2 separate regions of the Homo sapiens genome follow, and region 2 is linked to region 1. Evidence: promoter capture Hi-C in human tissues and cell types (Jung and others, 2019). All regions are on one chromosome and are shown on one strand. Each heading gives the region's core, a stretch centred on a gene start or on the middle of the fragment in contact. The rest is flanking DNA. Distances are from core to core; before and after follow the strand shown. Region 1 holds the start of KDM5A (lysine demethylase 5A). Region 2 overlaps RAD52 (RAD52 DNA repair protein).

Region 1 (6,142 bases), core at 3,643-6,142:
ACAGAACACCAGAAGGACTAACAGACAAACTATGGTTGTTCAGACTTAGATACGGCAGATCTTTTCTTGAAAATGAACAAAGTGAGTCAATCTCTTCAATGAAAACAACTAATGGTATTTGTTGGCAATAATAAAATTTGAGCTTTCAAGTGAAAATTATAATTTTGGAAAACTTGTTTCTGTCATCATGAGTTTGACAACTTCCCAATTGCCTGATAAATTGATGGTGATATTTTTGTAAATTTTTTTGATATTATATAATAATACATGTCAACATTAGGAAAAGCCGTATAACTCAGTGAACCAGTATTTTCTAAATGACCAATGCATGATGTTACAAAAGCATGACTGGGTAAAAAAGTCCATTCAAGGACAAGATTGGCTGGACGCAGTGGCTCACGCCTGTAATCCTAGCACATTGGGAGGCCGAGGCAGGTGGATCACCTGAGGCCAGGAATTCGAGACCAGCCTGGCCAAAATGGCAAAACTCCGTCTCTACTAAAAATACAAAAATTAGCTGAGTGTGGTGGTGGGTGCCTGTAATCGCAGCTACTCAGGAGGCTGAGGCAGGAGAATTGCTTGAACCCAGGAGGCAGAGGTTGCAATGAGCTGAGATCGCACCATTGCACTCCAGCCTGGGGGAAGGGCGAGACTCTGTCTCAAAAAAAAAAAAAGGACAAGATTGACTACCATTTTAATGTAACAGTGTAAAAAAGTTAACTGATAAAGTTTTAGATTCCAAATTGTTAGCCTTTAAGAAATTACAGTCATCTGAGAAGGTTATTAAAATGCTTCTCTGCACTACGTATGGTGGCTCATGCCTGTAATCGCAGCACTTTGGGGGGCCGAGGTGGGAGGATCCCTGAGCCCAGGAGTTTGAGATCAGTCTGGGCAACATAGCAAGATCCCATGTCTACAAAAAAATTTTTTTTAATTAGCTGGGCATAACGATGCACACCTGTGGTCCTAGCTACTTGGGAGGCTGAGGCAGGAGGATTGCCTGAGCCCAAGAGTTGGAGTAAGCTGGGGTTGTGCCACTGCACTCCAACTGGGCAACGGAGTGACACCCTGTGTCTAAGAAAATAAAAATTAAAAAATAAATAAAATGCTCTTCCTTTCCCAACTACATATTTGTGTGGTGCTGGTTTTTCTTCATATATTCCAACCAAAAGAACATATTGTAACGGGTTGGAGAAACAGATATGATAATCCAGCTCGATCCTGCTAAGCCAAATGTTAAAAAAAAAAGTACAAAAAATGTAAACCAATGCCACTCTTCTCACCAGATTTTTTTGTTTTGGAAAATATAGTTATTATTTTTAAAATGTATTTAAATATAAAAGTTTTATATTGAAATGAATAAAATATTTTAAACATCTTAGGTTTAATTTCTAATATAGTAAACATCAATATGTATTATGCATATAAACAAGAACTTTGGGGGTTCTCAATAATTTTTTTTTTTGTGAGACAGAGTCTTACTCTGTTGCCCAGGCTGGAGTACAGTGGCACCATCTTGGCTCACTGCAACCTCCGCCACCCAGGTTCAAGCGATTCTCCTGCCTCAGCCTCCTAAGTAGCTGGGATTACAGGTGCCCACCACTACGCCCGGCTAAGTTTTGTATTTTTTAGTAGAGATGCGGTTTCTCCATGTTGGCCAGGCTGGTCTCGAACTCCTAACCTCAAGTGATCTGCCCGCCTCGGCCTCCCAAAGTGCTGGGATTACAGGTATGAGCCACCGTGCCTGGCCTCAATAATTTTTAAGAGTAAAGGCGTCCTGACACCAAAACAGTTTGAGAATCACTGGTGGAAATTATTCTTGAATTAAAATGACATTTGTTTAAGAATTCAGTAATTTTGACTTTTCCCTCTCTGAAACTAACCCTAATTAATCTGATTTTGTGAGGTTTTATTGCATTTTTTAAAAATCCAGGGACCACGGTCTAGCCAAATGATTATCAGATCTAAGTATTCATTTTAGTCTATTTTAACACTCAGGATAATAAATTTCAGATAAATAATACTCTAATTTTTTTTTTTCTGAAAAGTTACTGTCAAGGATTGTTTAAGTAATGCAAATGATCCTTTTAAACTACAGTTATACTCCACTGTTCTGACCAGAAACCCAAATACTATTGACTCAGTTTAACATTGTGTGTGCAGAATGCCCTCATAGAAGCTGATGAAACACAATTTGGATTTTTACAACAGTGATTTTCAAAGGGGTAAGCATGAGAGGTGGGAGTGGGGTTCATGTGCCCCCCCTGAGGGAAGCATCAGAATGTGAGGTGGTTGTAACTACAGAAGTTTCTTCTGTTCGCACCAGAGATGTTAATATTTGCTGCCCTTCTATTCACTGTCTTCTCTTACAGACTTCCTGCTGTTGTAAGCAACCACTACAGATTTCTCAGAAGTACTGTGGCAAATAAAAATGATTGAGAATCATTATACATTTTCTATTCTACTAGAGAGACAGTTTAAAATAAAATAGGTAAGTATAATCTGAAGAAAATAACAGGAAATAAATAGGACCAATCAAAGCTTTTAAGGATTTGTGCTTATACTGAGGTTCTATCAGGTTCTCACGCTCTGTTAATTTGAAAGCAAAACCATTACATTTAATTGAATGTTTAATAAAATGAATTATCAGTGGCTTGTTTTATTCGGAATTCCATTATTTCTTTTTCCGAATAATATAGTTTTCCAGATTTAAGTGGTAAAAATCAAAGACTTTGTTGTAAATTTTTTTTTTTTTGGAGACAGAGTCTCACTCTTCTTGCCTAGGCTGGAGTACAGTGGCACGATCTCGGCTTACTACAACTTCCACCTCCTGGGTTCAAGCAATTCTCCTGCCTCAGCCTCCTGGATAGCTGGGATTACAGGCGCCTGCCACCACGCCTGGGCTAATTGTTGTACATTTTTAATAGAGACAGGATTTCACCATGTTGGCCAGGCTGGTCTCAAACTCCTGACCTCAGGTGATCTGCCCGCCTTGGCCTCAAAAAGTGCTGGGATTACAGGCGTGAGCCACTGCACCTGGACATAAATCATTATAATAATTGTATGGAATTATTATGAATCACAGCGTCCTGTGTCTACACCCCTTTGTAATGTGACATTGTCACTCTTCTCATAAAAAATTGGAATTTTCCCACTTCTTGAATCTGGGATGGTCTTATGACTTGCTTTGACCAACAGAATATGATGGAGTGATCTTGTACATTTTGGAGTCTAGGCTTTAGGTCTTTGCTTCCACTCTCATCTTCTTAGAATGCTAAGACCACCATGCAGTGGAAAAGCTCCATCTACCAGAAGATGAGAAGCCATGTGGAGAACTAAGACTTCCCAGCCAATAGCCAGCACCAACTGCCAGACACGTAAGTGAGGCCATCTTGAACCCTCCAACCCTAGATGTATTCACGGTTCTCCAGAGAAACAGAACCAATAAGATGTGTGTGTGTGTGTGTGTGTGTGTTTATAAAGATATTTATTTTAAGGACTTGACTCACTTGATTATAGAGCTTCCAAGTCCAAAATCTGCAGGGTGGGTTGGCAGGCTGGAGGCCAGGGAAAAGGTGATGCTACAGTTCAAGTCTGAGAGCCATCTACTGGCAAAATTCCTTCTTGCTCATGGAAGGTCAGTCTTTTGTTCTATTCAGGCCTTCAGTTGATTGGATAAGGCCTACTCACATTATGGAGGGCAATCTGCGTTATTCAAAGTCCCCTGATTTGTTACTCAGAGGTGAGAAAAATCATGGTGTACTAAAGTCACCACAAAAACTTCTGTAGATCATATGGAGAAGCAGGAGAGATGAAGCTGGAGAGCAAAGCAGCAAATCAGCAATTAAAAAAGATGTTTGGAGTTGTTGAGTTTGGAGATGAAAAGTGACAAGATGAATTCTGGATTTTAGACAAAGCAATCCAACGTGTGGATGGAGAGGGATTTGAGAGGAGAAATCAGCTGTTGTCAGTAAGAGTATTTAAATTAGGATACTGGTAACGGGGATGGAGAGACACACGATTATACATGGGAAGTGAGAGCAGAAAGAATTAGGATTATTTCTTGATTTTTTTTTTTTTTTTTTTTTTTTGCTCAGGCAACTGAATAGATGAAGTCATTAATGGAAACCAGGAACACTGAAGAAACAGTGAACAATTAAAGTACTTTGAGTTATCAAAGTGAGATGTCCTGCAGGTAGCTAGACGATACTGGCTGGTAATTCAGGAGAGCTGCTGCGTCCTGTGTAAAAGGAAAAGCAATTCATGGATGGTGGCTAAAGCCAGCTGGCAGGATTTAGGGGATGGGTTAGACCTGCACTTGTTTTGATGGAGAAGAGGCGGGTATAAAGTGGCAGAGTGAGATTACTGTAAAATATCTGCATTCAAAGGGCTAAAAAAAGAGAAATGCTGGAAAGGCTACTTGCTATAAACGCAGCAGGGTAGGTTAAAACAAATTACGAAGCACGGGCGGTGAGGCGCGGTGCTTAAGATTAAGCCCGGCGTGTTTTCGAGTGCACTGATACACAAAAGGGAAAGGGACCCTCCTCACCGGAAGCACAACCTCTGCCCTCTGGGGCATTACACATTCCTCCGCGCCGGAAGAAAGCGTCACGTCGCGTCGCGCCTCGCCCCGCCTCGTTGCGCCTCGCCCCGCCTCGCCCCGTCGGCTTCCCTCAATCCGTACCTCTAGTAAAGAAGAGCTTGTGCCCCTCCCCGACCCCTTACCAAGGGCGAGCTGCGTGGAGTCGTTGGACTGGGCAGAACTTTGGCGGGCAAGGAGACAAACAGCCACACTGTGCTGCCGGGGAAGAGAAGAAGAAGGAAAGGCCAGACACACAGGCGTCGTGCAGCTGCGGAAGGATTCCGTTTCCTGCAGGGGGCGGAGGGATTTGACAGCACGGTAACTTCCGGAAAAGTCCTGAACCTCAGTGGAAAAGCCTTGCAAGAAACAATAACAAACGGGAGGAGGAAGCGATTCTGGGGTTTCTGTGTTGAACGGTTCTTGTCCGCGAAGATGCGCTTCGGCCTCTGTCAGGGGACTTGAACGGGCTTAGTGGGCTTCAGCCAGCTTTTCTCCACCGGTTCCCCACGGGGACCCCCCCCCCCCCCCGGCCGTTGCAATGGCGGGCGTGGGGCCGGGGGGCTACGCGGCGGAGTTCGTGCCACCGCCAGAGTGCCCCGTCTTTGAGCCGAGTTGGGAGGAGTTCACAGATCCGCTCAGCTTTATCGGCCGCATCCGGCCTTTGGCGGAGAAAACCGGCATCTGCAAAATTCGGCCGCCCAAGGTACCTCAGTCTGTGAAGAGAGAGGGGGAGAAGGAAGAATGGGGGAGTCCGTACACTGGGTTTAGCTTTACTTTTCTGATCCTTGTCTCGTTTCATATGTACTCTCTTTTGAGACAACTGGAGCCTGTTTCTGGATGTTTTTGCCTCGGTTTCTTTTGTGGTCTTATGTAGACACGTCTGAAAGCGAGAAAGTGGTGTCTCTTGGGCCTCTTCCGCCTAGAACTTGGGAACTGATACTTTTCTCTCAGCCGTGGGCCTAAAGCCTTTCGTTAGCCGATATGGTGTTTAAAGTACAGTATTATGACGTGACGTATTCTTCCCTCACGTATCCTCATTATGGTTTGATAGTCGGCTATCTCTTTATTCAAGACCTGGTTGGATCAAATATTTGCAGGCCTCATCTCAGGGCTAGGGTTTCTGAAAAGGTTATCTGAGCTCTAGTCTCACCGGATGGTATTACTAGACAAGAACTCCAGACTAATTATTGCCGCAGTGAAAAAGTCTTAGCGGGGAAAGAGAAGGAGCAGCAATAATTCTAAAATTTAGAGGTTTAGGAAAAATTGGTTTATAGTGGAGGTGGAAGGAAATGTTGAAATCTCTTGACGTAGGGAACTCAAGATCAACGATTTTAGAATCACAGTTATTGCAGATAACTAGGTTTGCCTATAAGGTTAATTATAATCTCACCTTTGAGGTAAGGAAAACAGATACTATCCCTTGTGTGGAGGGGATTAATGCCCCAAGAGGTTGAGTGATTACTCAAGGTCAAAGGTGTTTTTCTTTACTCATTAGACCAGTGCTTTTTAAATGATGTTGCTGGACCACTTGCACCAGGGTCAACTGGATGCTTGTTTAAA
Region 2 (6,142 bases), core at 1,460-3,959, 550 kb before region 1:
GTCTCACTCTTGCTCAGGCTAGAGTGCAGTGGTGCGATCTTGGCTCACTGCAACCTTCGCCTCCTGGATTCAAGCGATTCTTGTGCCTTAGCCTCCTGAGGAGCTGAGATTACAGGCACCTGCCACCATGCCCAGCTAATTTTTGTATCTTTAGTAGAGAAGAGGTTTCATCATGTTAGCCGGGCTGGTCTTGAACTCCTGACCTCAGGTGATCTGTCTGCATTGGCCTTCCAAAGTGCTGAGATTACAGATGTGAGCCACCGTGCCTGGCCACTTTTTTTCTACTTTTGCTAATTTTTTTAAAGTTTCATGAACATTATAGTACTGTGTTCATAAATGAAAATAAAAGAAACTTGCTCCAGTCTTGTTCATCAAGCCGTTCTTGACCTTCACAGTCAGAATCTCACCCATCACCTTGTCACATCTCCCTCTTGATCTGTATATCCAGAGTCCACCTGACATGCTTCTTCAGCCCTCCACATATAATAAGAAATGGTTTTGTGAGCCGAGATTGTGCCATTGCACTGCAGCTTGGGCAACAGTGTGAGACTCCTCAAAAAAAAAAAAAAAGAAAGAAAAATGCTTTTAGGTGATAAGGAAATGGAGAAGAATAAAACATCTTTGCCAGTCTTTACCTTTTTAATATCTTGAATTCATGATTTCTTGCCATAGCCACTATCCTAGTCCAGGCTCTCTCCCTTCTACCCCTGAGTTTTTTTTTTTTTTTTTTTTACCATGTTTTTATTTCCTCTGGGAAAACACCTATCAGAATTTTGGGATCATATGACAGATACATATTTAATTTCTTTCTTTCTTTTTTGAGACAGGGTCTTCCTCTGTTGCCCAGGCTGGAGTGTAGTGGTATGATCATGGCTCACTGCAGCCTTGACCCCTTCCTCGCCCCCGCTCAAGTGATCCTCCCACCACAGCTTCCTGAGTAGCTGGGACTGCCGGCATGCTCCACCATGCCCGACTAACGTTTTGCTGCTTGTAGAGACAGCCATGTTCCCTAGGCTTGTCTTGAACTCCTGAGCCTCAAGCGATCCTTCCACTTCAGCCTCAAGTGCTGGGATTACAGGCGTGAGCCACCACTCCTGGCTACTTAATTTCTTTCTTTCTTTTTTTTTGAGACAGTCTCGTTCTGTCACCCAGGCTGGAGTGCAGTGGGGTGATCTCTTCTCACTGCAGCCTCTACCTTCCAGGCTGAAGCAAGCCTTCCACCTCAGCCCCCTGAGTAGCTAGGACTACGGGAACATTCCACCAGGCCCAGCTAATTTTTGTATTTTTTGTAGAGATGGAGTTTCATGATGTTGGCCAGGCTGGTCTTGAACTCCTCACCTCATGCAATCCGCCTGCCTCAGCCTCCCAAAGTGCTGGGATTACAGGTGTGAGCAACTGCACCCAGCGGGCCCCGCCCAGACCTATTTTCAAAATTAGAAAACCGTGAGGCTTCTGGAAGAAGATGAGAAGAATATCTTCATGACCTGAGTGTGTGCAAAGGTTTCTTAGGGCTCAGGATGCCAGAGTCACTTAAAAAAGCAAAAAAAACCCAAAAAAAAAACCACACACACAAAGATAAATATGATTGATTACATCAAAATGTAATCACAGACTACTCTAAGAAAATGAATGGGGAAACACAGGGACCTATTTGACAAAAGACTGATATTCAAGATAAATAAAGAACTAATAGGCCAGGCGCGGTGGCTCACGTCTGTAATCCTGGCACTTTGGGAGGCCGAGGCGGGGGGATCACTTGAGCTCAGGAGTTCGAGACCAGCCTGAGCAATATAGTGAAACCCCATCTCTACTAAAAATACAAGAATTAGAATTAGCTGGGCGTGATGGCACGTGCCTGTAGTCCCAGTTACTCGGGAGGCTGAGGCTGGAGAATTGCTTCAGTCAGGAAGATGGAGGTTGCAGTGAGCCGAGATTGTGCCACTGCACTCCAGCCTGGGCGACTGAACAAGACTTCGTCTCAAAAAACCAGTAGGGCTCCAGGCCTGGGATTGGGCCTCTGCTGCTCTACTCCCTGGACGTGTGGCTCCGTCCTTGGAGTCGGCCTTTGGTTTTCATGAAGAGTAGTGTGCATTAACAGCTGAGTGGTTTTATCAGCCTGTTTCCTGCCAACAGTGTATGAGAGTTCCAGTTGCTTTACATCCTTGCCAGCATTTGGTGTTGTCAGTCTTTTGAGTTATTCTGATGGGTGTGGTGTGTCATGGTCTTAATTTTAGTCCTCAGTCACTAATGGTGTTTAGCACTTTTTCCTGTGCCCATGACAATGTGCATCTTCCTTTGTGAAGTGCCTGCTCAAATCTTTTGCCCATTTTACATTGGGTTGTGTGTCTTTTTATTATTGAGTTGTAGCAGTTATTTATATAACCTTTATATCCTGGTTACCTGTCCTCTGTCTGGTTGCCTATTCATTTTCTTAGAGTTGTCTGATGAACAGAAGTTTTACATTTTGATGTAATCAGTTTTCTCTTATATTTTCTTTTATAGTTACTGCTTTCTGAGTCCTAGGAAATCTTGGCTACCTTCAGGCTGTGAAGATAATCTTTCATGTTTTCTTCTGTAAGTTTTTTTTTTTTTTGAGACAGAGTCTTGCTCTGTCGTCCAGGCTGGAGTGCGGTGATGGCGATCTCCGCTCACTGCAACCTCTGCCTCCCAGGTTCAAGCGATTCTCCTGCCCCAGCCTCCCGAGTAGCTGGGATTACAGACATGCGCCACCATGCCCAACTAATTTTTGTATTTTTATTAGAGACAGGGTTTCACCAGGTTGGCCAGGTTGGTCTTGAACTCTTGACCTTGTGATCCACCCGCCTCGGTCTCCCAACATGCTGGGATTATAGGCGTGAGCCACCGTGCCCGGCCTATAAATTTTATAGTTTTAGTTTTATGTTTAAGCCTATCACCCATTTCTAGTTTAGGTGAATGGTGTGAGATATAATTAAATATTAATTTCTTTTCCATATAGATATCCAGTCATTCCAGCACCATTTGTTGAAAATGCTATTGTATTGCGTTTTGGAAATTAAGATGACTGTACAAATGGTAATTGATGTCTGCACTCCCTTTTCTGTTCCATTGTTCAATCCTTGTGTTAGTACCACACTTTTAATTACTGTAGCTTTTTAGTAAGTCTTGAAGTCATGTAGTTGTAGGTCTTCCAATTTTGTTGTTTTCAAGCTTGATGTGAATATTCTAAATCCTCTGCATTTCCATATAAATATCAGAATTATCTTTACCAGTTTTACAGAAAAGTCTGGTAAAGTTGTGATTGGGATTGCATTGAATCTATGGATCAATTTGGAAAGAAATGACACCTAAACAGTATTGAGTCTTCAAATATATGAACTTGGTGCATTTTCCTTCTTATTTAAGCCTTTTAAAATTTCTTTTTAGGCCGGGTGCAGTGGCTTATGCCTGTAATCCCAGCACTTTGGGAGTCTGCAGCGGGCAGATCAGCTGAGGTCAGGAGTTCGAGACCAGCCTGGCCAACATGGTGAAACCCCGTCTCTACTAAAAATACAAAAATTAGCCAGGTGTGGTGGCAGGTGCCTGTAGTCTCAGCTACTTGGGAGGCTGAGGCAGGAGAACTGCTTGAACTTGCTCAGGAGGTGGAGGTTGCAGTGAGCTGAGATAGTGCCATTGCACTCCAGCCTGGGCAACAAGAGCAAAACTCTGTCTCAAAAAATAATAATAATAAAAATAAAAATTTTGGGCCAGGTGTGGCGGCTCACACCTGTAATCCCAGCAATTTGGGAGGCTGAGCCGGGTGGATCACCTGAGGTCAGGAGTTTGAGACCAGCCTGACCAACATGGAGAAACCCTGTCTCTACGAAAAATACAAAATTTGCCAGGCATGGTGGCGCATGCCTGTAATCCCAGCTACTCTGGAGGCTGAGGCAGGAGAATCACTTGAACCTGGGAGGCAGAGGTTGCAGTGAGCCGAGATGGTGCCATTGCACTCCAGCCTGGGCAACAAGAGTGAAACTCTGTCTCAAAAAAAAAAAATTCTTTTAGTTCTGTTTTATGGTTTTCAGTTCAGAAGTCTTATACATATTTTGTTAAATTGATTTCTAGATATGTTTCTTACCTTTATTGTAAAATGGAGCCATCATTTGCATCATTCATTACTCTGTATGTAATGTGTTATCATTCTCTACCTGCTTTCAAGATTTTCTCTTTATTTTTGTTTTTTAGCAGTTTGTCTGTGGTGTATCTAGGTGTCATTTTATTTGTATTTATCCGGAGATTTATTCTTGAGATTTGCAGAGCTTCTTAAATCTGTAAATTTATGTCTGTCGGCCAATTTGGGAAATTTGGAGCTATTAGTTTTAAAAATATTTCTTCTGTTCCATTCTCTTTCACTTCTTCTGTATGTGAGTTCAATTTCACTTCAATTGTATGTGAGTTAGACATTTTGATATTAGCCCACAGGATCCTGAGGTTCTTTCATTCTTTTCAATCTTTTTTTTTTCTCGAAGTTTGCATTTCGTGAGCAGGAGTGACAGTCATTCAGGATGATTTTTGAGATTCCTAGTTCAAGAGTAGTTCCTATTCTTTTCTAGGTGTAGTCAAGTATGGCTTCTAATTCTACTAGAAGGCTTTTTTGTCGGGGAGGTGGTTCTATGTCCTTTGGCTCTTACATTTTCTTTGTGTCTTTCACAGCACAGTTTTCAGAGGGTACCCTTTCTCTTTGGTTTTGTTTTGTTTTGTTTTGTTTTAGACGGAGTCTTGCTCTGTCTCCAGGCTGGAGTGCAGTGGCGCAATCTTGGCTCACTGCAACCTCTGCTCACTGCTACCTCTGCCTCCCGGGTTCAAGCAATTCTCCTGCCTCAGCTTCCTGAGTAGCTGGGACTACAGGCACGCGCCACCACACCCAACTAATTTTTGTATTTTTAGTAGAGACTGGGTTTCATCATGTTGGCAAGGCTGTTCTCCATCTCTTGACCTCGTGATCCGCCCGCCTTGGCCTCCCAAAGTGCTAGGATTACAGGCGTGAGCCACCGCGCCCGGCCAACAGAGGGTACCCTTTCATTCTTTTTCTCCTTCTTCCCAGAAGGCTTGCGTTTTCAAGACTACCTCATCAAGTTCTGCATGTGTTTAAAAGTGTCTCTACCCGACCTTCCCTTCCTCCCTCCCGATTTAACGGAATTCTTTGTTGGTGTTTTCATACTTACCGTGAGTTTTCTTTTTCAGGGTGATATTTTAGTTCCATCTTAGGCTCTCCATTGTCCTCTTCTCTCTTCTTTTTTTTTTTGAGACAGAGTCTCATTCTGTCACCCAGGCTGGAGTGCAGTGGTGTGATCTCTGCTCACTGCAACCTCTGCCTCCCAGGTTCAAGTGATTCTCCTGCCTCAGCCTCCCGAATAGCTGGGATTACAGGCGCACACAACCACGCCCACCTAATTTTTGTATTTTCAGTAGAGACGGGGTTTCACCATCTTGGCCAGGCTGGTCTCAAACTCCTGACCTCGTGATCCGCCTGCCTCAGCTTCCCAGAGTGCTGGGATTACAGGCATGAGCCACCGCGCCCGGTGCGCCCAGCCCTCTTCTCTCTTCTTTGCATCTCTCTTCCTATCTGGATCCCTCTTTGCTGTCCTTAAAGAGCTGAGATGAGAGATTGAGAAACATCTCTACAAGAAATTGACGTTTTTCTACTTATGGGTAATTAGAAGCTTGTAGTATTTTCAGTCTTCTAAGTATGTTGAAGATATGAGACGTTGGTGATTTTCTTTGTTTCTCCGGTTGGTTGGTCTGTGTAGTTTTTGGACATGTGTTTGGATATTTGGATTTATATAGCTGCCATAATCTTGGCTATGCAGGTAGTCTTTCCTGACACTTCATCCTGAAAGATTTGAAGCCTTTGGACAAATTTTACAGTGGGCTGGGTGCAGTGGCTCACGTCTGTAATCCCAGTGCTTTGGGAGGCTGGGCAGGAAGATTGCTTGAGCCCAGGAGTTTGAGACCAGCCTGGACAACATAGTGAGACCCGTGTCTCTACAAAAAATAAAAAATATGCCGTGTGTGGCGTTATACAACTGTAGTCCCAGCTACTTAGGAGGCTGAGGTGGGAAGATCACGAGCCAAGGAGTTTGAGGGTACGGTGAGCCATGATCGCCTCACTGCACTGGGT

What was found. Contacts are between HindIII fragments. The study calls those that stand out against the background at their distance.
Region 2: a contact is called between a fragment that was not itself captured here and the fragment with the promoter of KDM5A in region 1, in 1 of the 25 tissues and cell types used here (spleen).

The regions. Positions count from the first base shown.
Region 1 is chr12:388,070-394,211 of GRCh38, reverse strand. KDM5A (lysine demethylase 5A) reads left to right here and starts at 4,892. Exons shown (of 28, transcript NM_001042603.3): 1 at 4,892-5,285. The coding sequence starts at 5,121. It overlaps LOC105369594 (a long non-coding RNA gene), which reads left to right. Exons shown (of 4, transcript XR_007063149.1): 3 at 2,373-2,491; 4 at 3,271-4,179. It also overlaps a transcript of CCDC77 not described here. RefSeq lists an enhancer at 4,435-4,729. The HindIII fragment of the contact is 14,723 bases long and covers 1-6,142 here.
Region 2 is chr12:939,199-945,340 of GRCh38, reverse strand. The region is part of intron 1 of RAD52 (RAD52 DNA repair protein); the gene reads left to right. Among named protein-coding and RNA genes, the nearest start is that of RAD52, 7.4 kb to the left of the region's middle. The HindIII fragment of the contact is 3,456 bases long and covers 982-4,437 here.